Regions from separate parts of the Homo sapiens genome. Here region 2 is linked to region 1. The links are contacts of gene promoters, found by promoter capture Hi-C in blood cells and fetal thymus (Javierre and others, 2016). All regions are on one chromosome and are shown on one strand. Each heading gives the region's core, a stretch centred on a gene start or on the middle of the fragment in contact. The rest is flanking DNA. Distances are from core to core; before and after follow the strand shown.

The links. Contacts are between HindIII fragments. The CHiCAGO score rates a contact against its expected background, and 5 or more counts as called.
Region 2: a fragment that was not itself captured here is called in contact with the fragment with the promoter of AKNAD1 in region 1 in 1 of 17 cell types (M2 macrophages); the score reaches 5.0 in M2 macrophages.

Annotation. Positions count from the first base shown.
Region 1 is chr1:108,853,010-108,859,219 of GRCh38, forward strand. AKNAD1 (AKNA domain containing 1) reads right to left here and starts at 4,085. Exons shown (of 16, transcript NM_152763.5): 1 at 3,920-4,085. It overlaps SPATA42 (spermatogenesis associated 42), which reads left to right and starts at 4,208. Exons shown (of 3, transcript NR_034168.1): 1 at 4,208-4,492; 2 at 5,149-5,258; 3 at 5,376-5,515. The HindIII fragment of the contact is 6,949 bases long and covers 1-4,917 here.
Region 2 is chr1:108,889,818-108,896,506 of GRCh38, forward strand. The region is part of intron 2 of GPSM2 (G protein signaling modulator 2); the gene reads left to right. Among named protein-coding and RNA genes, the nearest start is that of GPSM2, 16 kb to the left of the region's middle. The HindIII fragment of the contact is 3,859 bases long and covers 3,194-6,689 here.

The DNA of each region.
Region 1 (6,210 bases), core at 2,835-5,334:
GATGACATTAGTCTACAGTTAATGGCCAAATACTTATCAACCTCCCTTAGGAGATAGTATTTGGAGTTTATTCTCCCAAAGTAGGAACTTGGGATGCAAGTAAAGGATTGATTTTTTTTCTTTTTTCTTTTTTTTTTTTTGAGACGGAGTCTCGCTCTGTCGCCCAGGCTGGAGTGCGGTGACACAATCTCGGCTCACTGCAAGCTCCACCTCCCAGGTTCACCCCATTCTCCTGCCTCAGCCTCCCGAGCAGCCGGGACTACAGGTGCCCGCCACCACGCCCAGCTAATTTTTTGTATTTTTAGTAGAGATGGGGTTTCACCATATTAGCCAGGATGGTCTTCATCTCCTGACCTCGTGATCCACCCGCCTTGGCCTCCCAAAGTGCTGGGATTACAGGCGTGAGCCACCGCGCCCGGCCTGATTTTTTTTTTAACTACCAGAGCCACGCCTTGTCCACGTGTCACTGACAGTCTTCTAAGCCATGTGGCGATGGAAGCTGGCCTAGCTCACATGTAACACCCACCTTCTCCATTCTGGTGCCTTTTCACCTGTCCCTCCAGACCTTCTGGTCCCCTTCTCCTGACTTTCCCTTGCATGTCTGAGAAGGGCAGAGAAGGACTTACAGAAATATGACCAAGGGGCCGGGCACGGTGCCTCACACCTGTAATCCCAGCACTTTGGGAGGCTGAGGCAAGCGGATCACCTGAGGTCAGGAGTTCGAGACCAGCCTGGCCAACATGGCGAAACCCCCATCTGTACTAAAAATACAAAAAGTTAGTCAGGTGTAGTGGCAAGCACCTGTAGTCCCAGCTACTTGGGAGGCTGAGGCAGGAGCATCGCTTGAACCTGGGAGGCAGAGGTTGCAGTGAGCCGAGATCAAGCCACTGCACTCCAGCCTAGGTGACAGAGAGAGACCCCGTCTCAAAAAAAGAAAAAAAAAGAAATGTGACCAAGGGACAAATAGGCTTTCAAACACCTGGAGGCCAGTCTGCAGCCAAATGTCCCTTTTCTAATTTGGACTCAGGCAGGAACCTAGTCAGAGAGGCTGCCTTCCCTGAACAACCCCTGCCAGCCACCACAGCCCAGGCGGCGGTCTGGTGGTACCAGACTCTTTGGGGATATTCCTGAAAATGGCTGGAGTAAAACCAGCTGCCATTTGGTATGAGTCCTATTTTCTCTTTTTTAAACAAAATTTAAAGCACCCATTCAGATATCTCTTCCTGATTTGTGAACTTTTGGGATGATTCCTCAGAAGTAGTAATCTCAAGTTTTAAGTAGAGTAACTGAGATTCCCTCTCCCCTGGAGCACCAGCCCAGGGTGACCACAGCTGCTGGCAGCCTCCCTTGCCCATACAATGATTATGTTGGGTGAGCAGATCTCTGAGGTTCTCTCTCCAACCAAATTTTTATGAGTCTATAAGCTGGTGATTTATTAGGTAACCTCAAAAGCTAAAATCATATGTTTGACCAAAATAAATTTTTTTGAACTAAGTCGTCCAAGAAAAAAAGGAGTACAAACTAAATGTGGTAAAAGCATCTGTGAGACATTGTACAAAAATCTTAATTTATAGACACATGCCAATGTTAGAGAACCCAAATTAAACAGATGCTCTGTTTAGAGAGGTGGAGAGAAAGGAGAATATCACTGCAGGATTATTTTAAATCATTTAAAGAGGGTAACATTTAGTATAAAGTGAGGCATGTCTTCATGAGAAGAATTACAGGCTATTCTAATCCAAGTTGAAGAACAAGGGAAAAGGCTTCCCAAGAAAGTGAAAGGCACAGTGGGAAAGCAGAAGTGGAGAGGCATGGATCTGAATACTCTGGCTTCTCTGCTTTCTAGCTGTGTGTCATCTGGCAAGTTATTTAACTCTTGTGAGTCTCGGTTGCCTTTTCTGAGAAATAGGACTAGCAATACCTGAAATAAGGCACTAAAGTACTCGGCATAGGGCTTGGCACAGAGTAAGAATTCCATACATTGTTGTTGAAAAATGAAAAAACAAAACCAGTCTCAGTATTGGAATACTGAAGAATGCCCAGGTCCAGAGGTGAGGCACTCCTTATCCGTGGGGATATTTAAAGGATAAAGGAAGGAATTGCATATGTAAAACATAATCTCGTCCAAGCAAGGTGGCTCATGCCTGTAATCCCAGCACTTTGGGCGGCCGAGGCAGGTGGATCACGAGGTCAAGAGATGGAGGCCATCCTGGCCAACATGGTGAAACCCCGTCTCTACTAAAAATACAAAAAATTAGCTGGGCGTGGTGGCGCACACCTGTAGTCCCAGCTAGTCAGGAGGCTGAGGCAGGAGAATCACTTGAACCCGGGAGGCAGAGGTTGCAGTGAGCCAAGATCGCGCCACTGCACTCCAGCCTGGCGATAGAGTGAAACTCCGTCTCAAAACAAAAAAGACATAATCTCTACAAGAACTTTAAGACAATTTTAAAACTCAATCTGTAAATAAATATATTTGAAGGTAAAAAAAAAAATCAGGCTGGATGAGGTGGCTCATGCCTGTAATCCCAGCACTTTGGGAGGCTGAGGCAGGTGGATCACTTGAGCTCAGTAGTTCAAGACCAGCCTGGCCAATGTGGCAAAACCCATTTCTACTAAAAATACAAAAATTAGTTGGGCATGGTGGTGCATCCCTATAGTCCCAGCTACTTGGGAGGCTGAGGCAGGAGAATCACTTGAACCCGGGAGGCAGAGGTTGCAGTGAGCCGAGATCATGCCGCTGTACTCCAGCCTGAGCAACAGCAAGACTCTGTCTCAAAAAAATAAAAAATAATAAATAAATAAATAAATCACTAAGCAAGTTTAAACAAAATATTGTCTAATTTTTTAGAACAAAAAAAAACAGAGTATCTTTTTTTTTTTTTTTTTAGACAAGGTCTCACTCTATCACCCAGGCTGGAGTGTAGTGACAACACCATGGCTCAACTGATCTTCCTCCCTTAGCCTCCTGAGTAGCTGGGACTACAGGCGCACACCACCACACCTGACTAATTTTTAATTTTTTTTTTAGAGATGGAGTTTCACCATGTTATTCAGGACGGTCTCGAACTCCTGAGCACAAGTAATCCACCTGCCTCAGCCTCCCAAAGTGCTGGGATTACAGACATGAGCCACTGTGCCTGGCCTGAGAGTATGTTTAAATGCCTACAGAGAGAATGGAAGAAGAAGAAAACAAATTCTAGTTTTGCAAGACTTTTAATGACCCAAGTATCAGTCCCAAAGTTATCCTCATGCTTTCTTTACATTTTCAGGAGCTCATTGCCAAACGCCATACCCTTCTTGTATAGAAAGGAAAGATACTTTGTTGGCCAAATTCCCACTTTTAAAATATAATTAATTAAAACTGATAAAATTTGAATTTTGCTCTGGCTCTCAAGAAAAAGAAAAAAAGTCCAGGCACAGTGGCTCATGCCTGTAATCTCAGCACTTTGGGATGCCAAAACAGAAGGATTCCTTGAGGACAGGAGTTTGAGAACAGCTTGGGCAACAAAGCAAGACCCTGTCTCTACAAAGAAAAAAAAAATTAAAAATTAGCCAGCAGTGGTGGTATATGCCTGTAGTCCCAGCAACTTGGGAGGCTGAGATGGAGGATCAGTTGAGCCCAGGAGGTCAAGGCTGCAGTGAGCAGAGATCATGCCACTGCACTCCAGCCTGGGTGACAGAGCAAGACCCTGTCTCTCTCTCTCTCTCTCACACACACATAAACACACACACACAAACACACACACAGACAAAGAAAGAAAGAAAGGAAAAGAAAAGGAGTGAGATACCATTAAGATAAACCAGAAACCTGAGGAACACTCTCATTACATACAGGAAAACAGCTTCTGTTGTTATTATTTTTTGCATGTGTGCATGCAAAATATCAAGAGGATTTTTTCTGGAAAAGGACAATCCATACCCTTAGCAAGGTAATGAGCTTCTTTGAGATAACTGGAGGAACTGGAGCATCTTCCCATGTCAACACTTGGCTCAATCTTGAAATCCAAAGGCATATCCAAAGAGGTTCCACTCAGAATCCAACAGAACCTTTCTGTAGAATCCAAATTGATTTTCTGAAGTCAGGTGACTACATTTGGGGCCACGCCTGCTTATGCAGCTATCTTGACCATTATGTGCTCAGCAATACCTCACAAGTCACTCTGAGATGAACACTTTGAGCAAACAGGGCCAGGACATCACAGTGACCCAGGCTGTGAAAACACTTCAGGCCAGTCCCTGAGTAGGAATGGACAACAAGGTGGTCACCATGCTGACAGCTATTCCCTGTGTGATTTACTTTATTATGAAGTCTAAATTTGATGCTGAAGTGCTAGCCTAAGCTCACTAACCTGCCAACTTAGAGAAGAAGGTAACCATGGCTAGGATGACTGGGAATCTGATGGACTCAATTAAGAATTTCTACAGATGGGAAAACCAAAACTCCTTAGTGGCAAGAGGCCAAAGATGGTCAGCGAATTGTTGTTTCCGGCTGGTAGGTGACATTTCTTCTATTCGCTAAGCCCATTTTGTGATAACACAGTTTTCCATATTGACAGGATTGTTTTCATCACCAAAGGAAAACCGTGGGTCCATGTTCCTGTGACAATCTCTTTGTCTCATTCCCAACACCCTCTGTTCTGTGTTTAAACCTCTACAAACCAGGCAAACTGGGGACTATGTGTAGGACCCAGACATGGAGGAGAAAGCAGGCATTGTTTCTACTTACCTTATCTGCCCCTCCACTAAGGTACCAGTTAGTACAACCACGTAACACTCACAAGTCCTACACTTCTAAGATCAGCCCTACTGACTTTGTCACGGTAAGAGTTGGCTGTTGGAGGCAATGATTCAACAATCTAAATTCTGATTATTCCTTTTTGTATCTGTCATTTAGAATGTGAATAGTGTACATCTAAAAGCTTTAAGTACATTATCCATCAATTTTTACTACACAAAGCAGTATGCTGCTCTGTCTTCAAACAGCACAATGCTACAGTCAACACAAAGGGCAAAACCATGGCAATATGGCAATTGCAATAGAAACTCACCAACATCTTGGAGTCTCTGGATATCACAGGTGAACAAGTTGAAGGGCCTTGCGACACAGACAAGCAACCCTTTAATTCTAAATCATCTTTTTTTCAACAGTTGGAAGTTGACTGCAGTTGAATAACAGAACAAAAACGGAGCTTCAAAATCATGGCGTGCCTGCTTCTTCTGGGTTCTTTTAACTGCAAGCAATCAGCTTTGAAGAGCACGTAGGGAACTTCTGATGTGATACAAACTTTTGTCTTTTTTTTTTTTTTTGTCTTTTAAGAGCATTCAAAAACACTTGGTCTGGCTGTTTCAATTTTCTCTTTCTCTCCTATTCCTAGCTCAAGAATAACATTTACATATGAAAGAAAATAGGAGATGGCTCAGAATAATATGTCCAAGGCCACGCCCAGGCGTCAGGGATTCATGAATTTTGTATACAGTGTATGATGTTTCTAGATTAAAATATTTTCAAAGGTAACATGATATAGGCTCCCTCTGTAATGACTGCATTTGATTATGCTCTGGTAATTCTATCAGCTAACTTTATCTCAGAAATGTGGGGTACCCACAATGCAGTGCCTCAACTGTAACCATATACCATTCAGTGAGGCTGTCTAGCTTCACCCTGTCATTGTGGGGTGGCAGAAGGGAGACACTGTGATGGGCAACAAGTCAATCCAATACTCCTACAAGAGCCAGATGGATGTATTATTTATAGTCAGTCTTAGGGCTGTCGTCCTTTTGGGAGTGCGCATGAATTTGATGACCAGCTGTTACAAATTTGTTATCCTGAAACTATTTTAGAAGTTGGGGGGAAGGGAGGAAAGCCTTTTAAAAGTGCGAGTAAAGCAGTATTTGGAGAAACTTCCTGCCTGTGTTTTACCAGAAAACTTTGCTGGTTTTCCTTGCTCTTTGGTGAGGTTAGCCCTGTCTTTTTATCCAATTTTCCCATTGATGTAGCCTAGTGTGTGCTGTAAACCACGGACCTTTGCTGTGCTTTGGGAACATTTAGAAAACTCTTACCAATTAATTTTCTGAAAGTAATTCCAGTGATAAACTTTAAAACACATTGATTTAAAGAAGTATAATGTCTTTTTTTTTTTTTTTTTTTTTTTTTGAGAGAGAGTCTCACTCTGTCACCAGGCTGGAGTACAGTGGCGCAATCTTGGCTCA
Region 2 (6,689 bases), core at 3,873-6,372, 38 kb after region 1:
TGGCTCCTAGTCACCCGGCCAAGCTGAACATAGAACACAAGATCTTCATTATCTGGCTTCTGCCTATTCCTGGGACCTTACTTCCTGCCATTCTTCACCTTGCACTTTGAGCTCTGGTTTCCTGCATGTCATGCTGTTTTATATTTCAGTGTCTTTGCTCATGCTATGCCCTATGTTGAACTCCCTTCCCACTTTCTTTGTTTAGCTAATTCTACTCTAAGATACAGCTCGGAGATTATCTCCTCCTGGAAACCATTTCTAAGCTCCATAGTTAGGCTCTGTGGCCTCCGTGTGCTCATATTACAATCTGTGCATTTTTCTTTCTTAGCACCAACTGTATTAAAATTAAGTTAATCTGTTTTTATGGTGCTCCCTTCCTCCTCACCTCTCCCTTTGAGCATTAGCTCCTCAGCTGTGGTCACTCCTCAGCAGCCATGATAATTAGCATGTTGTCTGGCACATATTGAACTTCAATGGAATATGAACGTAATAAGATGTTTATCTGTCTTGCTAAATGTTTTGAATAGTATTGTGCTTTCTAATATGGTAAGAACAGTAGATAAGTAGGAATGGCTTGTACCTCTGCCTGTTGGAAGATCTTAGAATTGTCCTTTTTCTGTGATACAGTCTAGATCAAACATGGTTGCACTTTGCTATAGGACTTCACCAAGGGAAACTTAAAAATCTGTACTGTCTGTAATAGGACTATACCAAACAAATCTCTGGCTTTATCAGTGCTCTAAGACCAGCATTCTGTATATTGATTGGATTGTCGTATAATTGGGGGTAATGATTTGAACTCTTTATGTTAGGCCATAGGCTGGTATAAGTTATTCTTCTGCTATAGTAAATCCTTATGAAATGTTTTATCCATCTGGTTCTTCCATTGTGGAGGTCCTCCTCTATCCCTGGAGGAGTTTCTGTGGCACAATGAATTTGTAATTTTGAATGGAATGTTTCTTGGAACACTAAGTAACCTCCTAAGGGGACATCAGAATGCTTTATTGAAATATTTTGCACCTATTTCAAAAGGTAGAGACTGATAGCAAGTACAATTTAAGTTAAAAAAAAATTATATGGTTGATTTTTAAGGAATTATTAATTTTTTATGTGTGATAATGGTATTGTGATTGTATTTTTTGAAAAAGATTAATCTTTTAAAGATACATACTAAGGTATTTACAAATTAAATCATATGCTTTCCGGAATGTACTTCAGACCAATCTGGGGTTGGAAGAGTAACGATCAGAGTAGAGATGAATAAATAATATATTGATTATATATGTGTAATTATTGACGTTGAAAGATGGATACATTGGGTTTGTTACACTAGTTCCTCTGGTTTTGTGTTTCTTTGGAAAATGTCATTTATACTTCTTACTGTGAATAATAAGCATTTTAATACTTTAATATTGTAAAAGTTAGATTCTTGCATGTAAGTTGTGAAGGAATACAGATATGGTGTTGAATTCTTTAATTTTGTTAGCTCAATGTAGTTGTTAATGTGCTTTCTTGAGTAGTTTAAGGTAACATGGAGTGATGGAAAGACCACTGGATTTGGAGACAAAGATAAATTTTCATATCTCAACTTTGACATCCCATGACCTTAAGCAAGTCATTTAACCTGTCTCAGCATCACTTTCTCCTTCTGTAGCAATACCTATCTTAGAAGGTTATTTTTATTTTATTTTATTTGAGATAGGGTCTGGCTCTGTCACCCATGCTGGATTGCAGAGGTGTGATCTTAGCTTACTGCACCCTCTGCCTACTGGGCTCAAGCTATCCTCCCACCTCAGCCTCCCGAGTAGCTGGGACTACTACAGGTGCATGCCACCACAGCCAGCTAATTTTTTTTTTTTTTTTTTTTGGTGGAGATGGGGTTTTGCCATGTTGCCCAGGCTGGTCTCGAACTCCTGGGCTCAAGCGATCCACCCCCCCTTAGCCTCCCAAGTGCTGGGATTACAGGTATGAGCCACTGCACCCAGCCTCAGAGGGTTATTTTGAGAATTAAGTTTGATAAAGGTTAAAATCACTTTTAAAACTAAATTACCATACAAATTTTTGTTTTTTAATCATTTTCTTCCTTCTTATTCTATATTATTAATCATCTAACCATACAAATGTAAATCAATTGAGCACTACTTTTCCTTTTACATAATAAATGAGAACAGCTAGATATATGTGGTAAATTGAATGGATGAAATTTGTTTATTGGGGCTAGCACTGGTGATGGAAAAGGTTCATGCCCAATTAGAATACAGAGAAGGTAGAGCTAGGATTTATGAAAGAAGATCACACAACCACAGAAATGGAAAGCATAATAGAGAAAATGGAGAGTAGTCTTATTTTGCCTCTTAAGTCCTGAATTCCATCATTTATTCTTAAATAGTATGTAAGCCCTTTGAAGCAAGAGTCAAATCTGGACAAAATTGATGTTATTAAGTCTTTTAGAAAGATGTAGCATCATGGTTTTATGTTTTGCATTCACTGACGTCCTGTGAACACGAAACAAATTTAAGGAGGTAAAGAGGATAATAGTCAAGTGCAAAATCTAGTGTGGAAGAGAAGTTAAAAATTAAAAGAAAAATTGAAATGACATGAGTTTGCACAGAAAATGAGAAATTCTAGCTAAAATGTTCACTCTATTAGCAAAAATGAAAACACGTCAGTTAAGGATAGTAGTACTGTGTCTATTTGAAGTTTATTAGAAACATATTTTCTTTGATTATACAGCTAGATAGGCTCTCAGAAGCATAAAGGAAACTTTGTATGTGGGATGAATTTTAATGGAGGGGTATGTTCTTGGTTTTTCTTCTACATGTGGGTATGTTCTTTGTTTTCAACCCAACTGGTAAACAAAGGAAGTAATTCTATTCTCTCATAGTGACAGAGAGGATATGAAATTACTTTCTCTGTTACTATTTAATGATCTTCTAAAAAATTTATAAACCAAGCTGCCCTATTTTGCAGGCATAAATCTATATTTGATTCAGGTGTTAGAGATTTTTGCCAGAATATTAACTTATTTTCTAATAAAATACACCAGAGCCTGAATCTATCTAAGAATTAATCATAAACTAGAGTGTTTGGGACATTATTTCAGGTATTAGTCACTGGAATAACTTTTCTAAGATAGTCTCTCCTGTAGGGCATTCTCACTACATGGACTTCAAGGACAGCCATGTAGCCAGCAAGCTTCCAGTTTGCTAGTATTGTTTCTTATGACAATTATGTAAAATGCCTTTTTAAAAACGTGTAACACTTACGATGCCATTCAATCTATAGCTAAGTTTTGTGGGATGCCACATCATTTGGATCAATGGTTCCAGTAAAATGTTCTGTAAACTTAAATCCAGAAGATCAGTCATTTGTGGTGAAGTTATTTATTTGAAGAAGATACTTCTCAGTTTTATATGAATATTGGCAAACACTTTTATACTTCCGATTTTTAAATGTTGTTCACATGAATAGCCAGTTCTGCCTTATTCCTAATTTCCCGGCCAGCAACCCAGTCATCCTGAACTGATGGTGCTGTCATGTGTGACCATTTCCTCACTTCCCCCTCAGTGAAATGATGCGCCATCATTAGTAATCCATTGTATAGTGGCGTGTAATTTTTTTTACCCAGTACTCTATTGGTGGACATTTAATTCATTTGTGGTTTTTTTGCTGCTGTGAATATCCTTTCATATGTATCTTCTTAAATTTGTGTAAGTATACCTTAAGATCAATTCTTAGCACTGAAAATGCTTGAGATATAATTTTTAACATAATTTAGAATGCTTAAATTAAAAACTTTTTGTAGGAAAAGAATTATTTTACAAATAAAAATATCTTTTCCATTTTTTTAAATAATATTTCTTAGAAATTCATTGGTTTCAGTTTTTGACAAATAAAGACAACCAGTTCAGGTACTTCATCTAGCAAAATAATCCTTTAATAAAAATCACATTTTGACTGGGCACAGTGGCTCACGCCTGTAATCCCAGCACTTTGAGAGGCTGAGGCAGGCGGATCTCCTGAGGTCAGGAGTTGGAGACCAGCCTGGCCAACATGATGAAACCCCATCTCTACTAAAAATACAAAAATTAGCTGGGCACGGTGGTGCATGCCTGTAATCCCAGCTACTCAAGAGGCTGAGGCAGAAGAATTGCTTGAACCCAGGAGGCGGAGGTTGCAGTGAGCCATTGCGCTCCAGCCTGGGTGACAGAGTGAGACTCCATCTCAAGAAAAAAAAAATTACATTTTTATATATCTTTTGTTGATTTATTTATCTTTATACATAGAATATGACAATAACTTCATAAAATCTTAAACAGATATACTCAATTTTTTCTTTTATGAAATATCTCATTTTCAGAAATACAATTCTAAAGGGCAGTTTTCATTTTTGGAAGGCAAAAATAGGCTTTATTAATTGTGAAGTGACATATAAAGAAACATAAATATAGCTGTTTAAGGTTTCTGATTTAACTGCTTATCTTACTATGTATTTTAGATCTTCTCTCCTGTATCTAATTGGCTTGTAGTCTAATATTGTAGCAAAATGTTGGAGGTTTACCTGCATTATTTTGCATAGATCCATAAAGTGAAGATGGGGCCAGCCATGGTGGCTCACACCTGTAATCCCAGCACTTTGGGAGGCCAAGATGGGTGGATTGCTTGAGGTCAGGAGATTGAGACCAGCCTGGCCAACATGGCAAAACCCTGTCTCTACTAAAATTACAAAAATTAGCCAGGCATGATGGCACATGACTGTAATCCCAGCTGCTCAGGAGACTGAGGCACGAGAATCACTTGAACCCAGGAGGCAGAGGTTGCAGTTAGCCAAGATTGTACTGCTGCACTCCAGCCTGAGTGACAGTGAGAGACTGTGTCTCAAAAAAAAAGTGAAGATGAGCAAGCAGTAGCCATTGGCTAAGTCATTTGAATTCTTAAAAAAAAAAAAGATACCTAGATAGAAAACTTGAAAATTACCTATTGGAATTGGCTACATATATCTGCTTGTTCTAAACCAGAAGTCTGCTTTGAACCTTTACAATTGGCTCAGTTTATCTTTGTCCAGGCTTTTAGCTTCATCAGGTACATTTTCTACTTTACAATCCCATTTTAATTTATGGCTCTAAGGACCCTTGAAATTTTGCAGACTGAAAAACAGCACTCACAAAAACATGTTAATTGATCTACCACTAGATATACAGAGTATAATCATATTTGAATGATATTAGGGTGGGTGGTGGTTTAATTCACATTTCTTATAAAAGCACTGATTCTCAACCCTAACTTGTACTTTAGAATTACCTGGGGCTTTAAAAAAATACAGGTGGCCAGACATCACCCAGAGGGTGGAGTTCAGCGTTGGGAGTTTTAGAAAGTGCTCCAGGTGAGCTCTGCTGTTGTACAGCCAGCATTAAGAACAACTGCTCTATTGGAGTGGCTCAAAGCTCATTCTAGTAAGGAGTAACTTAATGCTGTTCCAAAAATTAAAACATTTGATGAGCTTAATCAGAGCTTCTCAAAGAGTGATATGTATGCCACTGGTGGTACATAAGGTAACTTTACTCACTTTTAGATTTTAATAATTTCATATTTGTTTAATGTGTATTAGAACGGGGTTCCCAACCCCTGGGCCACAGACCAGTACTGTTGTAGCCTGTTAGGAGGTAAGCTGCAGGTGGGCAGGACGAGTGAGCATTTTCACCTGAGCTCCGCCTCCTGTCAGATCAGCAGTACCATTAGATTCTCATAGGAGTGCAAACCCTATTGTGAACTGCACATTCGAGGGATCCAGATTGCACATTCCTTATGAGAGTTTAATGCCTGATGATCTGTCACTGTCTCCAGTCACACCCAGAGGAGACCATCTAGTTGCAGGAAAACAAGCTCAGGGCTCCCACTGATTGTACATTATGGTGAATGTATAGTAACAAGAGGAATAAAGTACACAATAAATGTAATGCACTTGAATCATCCCAAAACAATCCCCTGCCACCCGTCCATGGAAAAATTGTCTTCCACAAAACCGGCCCCTGGTGCCAAAAAGATTGGAGACCGTTGTATTAGAATATACATATAAGTATCGTATCAAATTCACAGTTTCATGAGTACTGCTTTGGATGAAGCTCCATTTTTTTAAAATGATAAGTTAAAGATAGTGTGCCAATTTAAAGGAAATTTGCCAAATTACAGAAATAATTAAACGAATAGGTAGTTCCTACATATGGCAGAAATCATGAAGATGCTGAAGAAACACAATGGCAACTTTGGTGAAGGGCACCCTCTAAAATTTAGGATTTGAATCCAAAGTATCAGTGTTTTTTTCTCCCAGATATGTTTACAGTGACTTAATCCTTCTTTTTCAATTCAGGGACAGACTTTCAAAATTAGTATTTCTGCAAATTTTTGAATCATTGTTTTCTAACTTAGTTTCTTGACACCTAGTTCTCTTGTGAAAATGTGTCTTACAGATCAAGAATATTTTGTTCCTCTATTTTTCTAGGGTATAAGTGGACATGTGGTGGTAAGAAGAGGAAGGAGAGTGAGTGTGTGTTGTGTGTGTATGAGAGAGAGAGCGAGGGATGGATGGCTGGATGGTCAGAGGGGCTGATGAACAGGTGACTAGATTACTTGGATACCTGGGTAGAGAACAATATTAATAATTGTAGGGCCTCACTTTCCTACATACTCAT